Regions from separate parts of the Homo sapiens genome. Here region 1 is linked to region 2. The links are contacts of gene promoters, found by promoter capture Hi-C in blood cells and fetal thymus (Javierre and others, 2016). All regions are on one chromosome and are shown on one strand. The core of a region is centred on a gene start or on the middle of the fragment in contact, and the rest is flanking DNA. Distances in the headings are between cores, read along the strand shown.

Region 1 (3,029 bases), core at 284-2,783, 4.7 Mb before region 2:
TAGTAAGGGCTGTGTTTGTTGCTAGCTCTGTGACCTTGAGGAAATCCTTTAACCTCTCTGGGTTTCAGTTTTATCATGTATTTTATTCAGCACCTGTGTATTGAGTGCCAGCTGTGTGTCTAGGCCCTGTGTTGAAAGAAAACCGACCAAGCTTCTGCCCTCATGGAGTTTATGTTTTAGTGGAGAGGCAAACAGTCCAGCAAATGCGCCTATAGAATATAATGGCTTATAGTGGCAACTGCTGTGAGGAAGAAATAAGTCAGAGTTCAGGAATAGCGTGTGATAGGGGCAGCTATTTTAGATGGGGTAGTCAGGGTAGGCCTCTGAGAGATGACAAATGAGCAGCTGAATGAAGTTAGGGAGTGACCAGTAGTTTCTATGATTTCCTTGTAAGTCTGTAGTTACATGTTTATATTATTTGGCAACTTTTTCATTCCTATTGTTATATTGCTGTAGTATTTAGTCGATCTAGTCTATCTGATATTTGCAAGTCTTCTTTGACCTTGTTTATATAGTCTCCAACAAATTTGAATACTTACAGATTGATCTTTATTAGCAGCGCATTCTATAAAAGGTGTGGATTTCAGGATTCAAGGAAATGTTAAAGGCAAAGTTTAACTTTAATGTTGTGCAGTTGTGGGGAATGATTTTTGTATTAGTTACTTAAAATTTAATTTCTTTTCCAGTTTTGGGAATATAGATAACTCACACTAATTTGGTTAAAAAAAAAAAAACAAAAACAAAACACACACACACACCAGAAAACAATGCTTACCTTTCTACCTGTAGAAGTTGGGGAATTCCAACCCATCCTTCCCCCCGCCCCGCCCCGTTCACTCCCTCTCCTCGTTTAAACTTTTCAATTTACTGGTAACTGTAGTTGATCTTCAGTTTTTATGCACACATCTCCAAACACCCCTTCCTGGGTTGTTTGTGGCAAATGTTTATTAACTTCAGGTAGCTTTCCCATGGGTGCTTATCATATTAAAGAGACTCCTTTTTTTTTTTCCTTTTATTGGAGAGAGGGTCTCGCTCTGTTGCCCAGGCCGGTGTGCAGTGGTGCAGTCTTAGCTCACTGCAACCTCCGCCTCCCAGGTTTAAGCAATCCTTCTGCCTCAGCCTCCCAAGTTTAAGCAATCCTTCTGCCTCAGCCTCCCAAGTAGCTGGGATTACAGTCATGCACCACCATGCCTGGCTTATTTTTGTATTTTTGGTAGAGACGGGGTTTCACAATGTTGGCCAGGTTGGTCTTGAACTACTGACCTCAGTGATCTGCCTGCCTCAGCCTCCCAAAGTGCTGGTATTACAGGCGTGAGCCACTGTGCCCGGCCAAGGACACTACTTTTTTGACAGCATTTTCTGTTTTGTGTTCCAATTAAAGTTTCCACAGAGAAACTTTAAAAATGTGTCATTTTCCTAACAGGATGAATATGATATATTTTGGGGGGAAGAGTTTGCAGTAATCTCTGGTCTTTGTCCCCCCTTATTAGTGTAATTGGAAAAAAAATTATTACCATCGTTACATTTGAATCTTCTTTATTTTTCTTTTGCTACTGGAATTTTCTTAGAAACACAATAGGAAGTAAAATAGTTGAATGCGTTGTGATGAAATACGGCTCAGTTGGTGTCCTCCTTTTAATTTTTAAATCTCTTCCTAAGCCATTAACACCAGAGTCAACACAAATACCTTTAAGATGAAGTCAAATTTGCCTCTTCAAGAACCTGTCAGTCCTGCTCTTTCAGGTTGCCAGGGAAGACTTGTGAAAGGCAATCCAAGCTCTCATCTGCCTGGCCTGCCTTTACTGCTTCCTCCCTCCTTCAGATCTTGGGAGTAAGGAAAGGGCCACGTTATAGCAAAAACCTATTTATTTGTCACTTATTTCACTCTTGCTCATCTTATTTGATAAATTCTCTTTTTATTTTTGGTAATGCTCCCCTCCTCACATCCAGTTGAGATTAGGCAGTAGTTCATGGGGGGAAAAAAAGAATGATTAAGATTATTAGTGAGCTTTACATTTGTGAAAGGAATTGGAGAAGGAATACTAATAATATTTGAGAAAAATTTCTGTATGTGAGGCATTGTGCTAGATGACCTCAAAGAAACATGCAGTCTAGTTATTAGTACGATATAACTTGTAGAAGAATCAGAGTGTTTATCATTTGGGGAGAAGGCTAATTTCTTTAGAATAGTGAAGGAGAGGCCGGGCGCGGTGGCTCACACCTGTAATCCCCAGCACTTTGGGAGGCCAAGGCAGGCGGATCGTGAGGTCAAGATATCGAGACCGTCCTGGCCAACATGGTGAAACCTTGTCTCTGCTAAAAATACAAAAATTAGCTGAGCATGGTGGTGTGTGCTGGAGGCTGAGGCAGGAGAATCGCTTGAACCTGGGAGGCGGAGGTTGCAGTGAGCTGAGATCGTGCCACTGCACTCCAGCCTGGCGACAGAATGAGACTCCATCTTAAGAAAAAAAAAAAGAATAGTGAAGGAGAGAAGAGCCAGCAGTGAATGGGGAGAATAGCAGGAGTAAAGAACTTTATGAGTTCATGAGAACCTAAGGCTCAGTATTTGAAAATTACTGACTTATGAGAAAGCAGGCATGTAAATAAAAAATAAAAAATGTTGGCCCTAGATTTTGATATGTGTGTGGTGTGTGGTGTAGGAGAGGCCCTGATATTTACCTGTAAGTGTTAGAGTTGTATGAAAAAGGTGGCAAGATTGAGTAGCTTAGGGCATGTGGTGTGGAGGCTGTATGCTAGAGTTTTGGCATTAATAACTTGTATTTTCTGGGTTTTGGCATTAATAATTTGTATTTTCACTCCCCAAATATTTTTCAAGCATCTACTTCATGCCAGACCTTGTTCTAGATACCGGAGATACAACAGCAAAAATACAGATCTTGCCCTTATGAAGCTTAAATTGTTGAGGCAGGCAGACAGTGATAAATAAATACATAGAATGTTGGGAAAGAAAATAAGAGGATTTGAGAGGGTGGAATGGGGAAGAAAGGATTCACTGATAAGATGCCATT
Region 2 (3,128 bases), core at 449-2,948:
TGGCTCCCGCCTGTAATCCCATTACTTTAGGAGGACAACACAGGTGGATCACTGGAGACCAAGAGCTCAAGACCAGCTTGGCCAACATAGCAAAACCCTGTCTCTACTAAAAATACAAAAAATTAGCCATGGTGGTGGCCCACACCTGAAATCCCAGCTACTTGAGAGGCTGAGGCACAAGAATTGCTTGAGCCTGGGAGGCAGAGGTTGCAGTGAGCCAAGATTGAGCCACTGCACTCCACTCCAGCCTGGGCAACAGAACGAGACTCTGTCTCAAATAAATAAATAAATAAATAAATAAACAAATAAAATAAAAAATAAATAAGTTGATAAATAAAATTAGAATATACAGATAAGCCAAAGACAGAAATTTAAAATTGCTTATAATTGTATTCCCCAGCAATAAGCATCATTACTATTTTGGTGGCTGTCTTTGCAGTTTTTTCTCTTGAACATATGTTTATATATAGGTTTCATTACAATTTAAAAATCTAGCTGATAGTGTAGCCCTCAATCTCACTTCAGAGAAACCCACCTCACAAGTTGGGAAACACTGACACTGATGCCCCCTTAGAAAACCCAGGATGTAGACATTTATTTGCCGGGAAACTTTGGTATCCCTCTATGGCAGATAGGCTACTGTCAGAATGCTCTTTTTGAAATAAGAAGTTATGTAACACAAAGACATGTTCCTGGTAGTTTATGCAAAGACAGAGGAAAGAGTATGCAAGAATGTCATCCTCAAGGGAAGTGCAGAGAGATTTCTTCAGTCCTCAGCTGAGTATAAGCTGGCCTCCTGGAGTCTGTGAACACAAACGTCCAATGTGAGTGTGCCTGTGCAAGCCCCTGGCTGTTTATACTCCGGAGGGTGTCCCCGTGCGTCATCGGTGGAGTGGACCAAAACTGGTGATCTGTTTGCCCTGTGTGACCTTGCCCAGAACCCTGCTGACTGAGAGAACACATCTGCTGGAAGTCCTCTGGGATTCAAGGTACAGGGGTAAGCATGACCTTGAATGCAGTAGCAATGTGCTTTAGCCAACTAAGCTGGCTCATTTCATTTACCGCTCTATCTCCCATGGTTAAGCATTAAAAATACATGTTGTGGCTGGGCATGGTGGCTCACGCCTGTAATCCCAGCACTTTGGGAGGCTGAGGCTGGCAGATTGCCTGAGGTCAGGAGTTCGAGACCAGCCTGGCCAACATGGTGAAATTCTGTCTCTACTAAAAATACAAAAATTAGCCGGGCATGGTGGTGCACGCCTGTAGTCTTAGCTACTGGGAGGACTGAGGCGGGAGGAACGCTTGAACCCGGGAGGCAGAGGTTGCAGTGAGCTGAGATTGTGCCACTGCCCTCCAGCTTGGGTGACAGAACAAGACTCTGTCTCAAAAAAAAGAAAAAAGAAAGAAAAAGAAAAAAAATATATGTTGGATGTTCAGAAGACTTTGTTTCATTTTAAGGTATAGAATAAGTAACTCAACAGCAATGAATTCATATGTTGTGAACAAACAGGAAACAAATGAGTAATTCCTTTCTTGACGGAATTTCTAGCTCTTGCATCTTTTACTCTGAAGTTCTACTTCTTCCCCGGCTACTCCTGCCTACACCCATCTTCCCTTTCTGAACTGGTAGTACTTGTGTCCAAACCACTCTTACTGTGCTTTGAAAAAAAAAAAAGGAACTGCTCAGCAGTTCCCCTCTCTGTACACTGTCCTCTCACAGAACAAGAAGGTATCTGGTCTACAAGAACTCGAGGCCTCACTGAAACGGAAAGCAAATACAAAGAAACTTTATTTTAAAAACATGTCTTGGTCTCCCAAGAAGAGGGCAATTGGATTGCTCAGCCAGGTACTGTGGGTAGAGAGAATGGGATTTTTAAGGTCTGGGGCCCAAATATTAAAATCTGGGTTTACATTCATTTAAAGCTTGTGTCTGGGATGTACAAAAGCCTTAACATTGACGAGTGTGATTTGCATGCCTGGCTGGATTTGCCTGCCGAGAAACCTTTAGGGGTGGTTAATCGGGTCTGCTGGGGCTTCATCAGGTTCAAGGGGTACATGTACCCCTTGGACTACTGTGAGATGGAAAGGACTTTGGAAACACTTTTTGGCATTACAGAAAGGAAACTCACTCTTTTTTTTTTTTTTTTTTTGAGACAGAGTCTTGCTCTGTCACCCAGGCTGGACTGCAGTGGCGTGATCTCGGCTCACTGCAACCTCTGCCTCCTGGGTTCAAGCAATTCTCCTGCCTCAGCCTCCCAAGTAGCTGGGATTACAGGCACCCGGCACCGCGCCCCAGCTAATTTTTGTATTTTTAGTAGAGACAGGGTTTCACCATGTTGGCCAGACTGGTCTCAACTCCTGACCTCGTGATCTGCCCACCTCAGCCTCCCAAAGTGCTGGGATTACAGGTGTGAGCCAACGTGCCCGGCCAGGAAACTCACTCTTGTTGCTAAGACTGTTGTTAGAATCACAGATGATCAAAGCTGAAAGGAACGAGGTGGACTACTTAGTCCATCCAATCTCCCAAGTTACTGATGAGAAACCTGATATTTGGAGACAGAAGTGAAGGAAATCACCCTTTACGGGACACCTATTTCGTGATAGGGTCTTTATGTACATTATCTCAGTAGATCCTTGCAGCCTGGCTTTGAGAGGTGGAAAATGTGGTAGAGAGGAGTTAAATGTCCTGCCCTACATCACACTGCTAATTGTCTACAAAACTAGGATAGAACCTGGTCAGCACACTTCTTAACTGTTCACACACTTTTATAATATTAGTCGTATTAATGTGTTTAAAATACCATAGACTGGGTGGCTTAAACAACAGAAATTTATATTCCCACAGTTCTGGAGGCTGCAAGTCCAAGACCAAGGTGTCAGCAGGGTTGGCTTCTCCCCACGCCTCCCTCCTTGGCCTTTTCTCTCTGTATGCACATTCCTGGTATCTCCCTTTGTGTGTCCCGATTTCCTCTTCTCATAACAGCCTCATTTGAGCTTAATGACCTCTTTAAAGGCTCTGTCTGCAAATACAGTCACATTCTGAGGTTCAGGGCTTCAACATATGGATTTGGGGGAAGCCCAGTTCAGCACATAACACTAATATTAACATGTGAGATTGCTGAAGCCTA

What was found. Contacts are between HindIII fragments. The CHiCAGO score rates a contact against its expected background, and 5 or more counts as called.
Region 1: a contact is called between a fragment that was not itself captured here and the fragment with the promoter of NLRC4 in region 2, in 1 of 17 cell types (neutrophils). The highest score is 5.7, in neutrophils.

The regions. Positions count from the first base shown.
Region 1 is chr2:36,961,978-36,965,006 of GRCh38, reverse strand. The region is part of intron 1 of STRN (striatin); the gene reads left to right. Among named protein-coding and RNA genes, the nearest start is that of STRN, 3.0 kb to the left of the region's middle. RefSeq lists a silencer at 2,316-2,511. The HindIII fragment of the contact is 2,760 bases long and covers 154-2,913 here.
Region 2 is chr2:32,263,456-32,266,583 of GRCh38, reverse strand. NLRC4 (NLR family CARD domain containing 4) reads left to right here and starts at 1,698. Exons shown (of 9, transcript NM_001199138.2): 1 at 1,698-1,846. The HindIII fragment of the contact is 10,627 bases long and covers 1-1,925 here.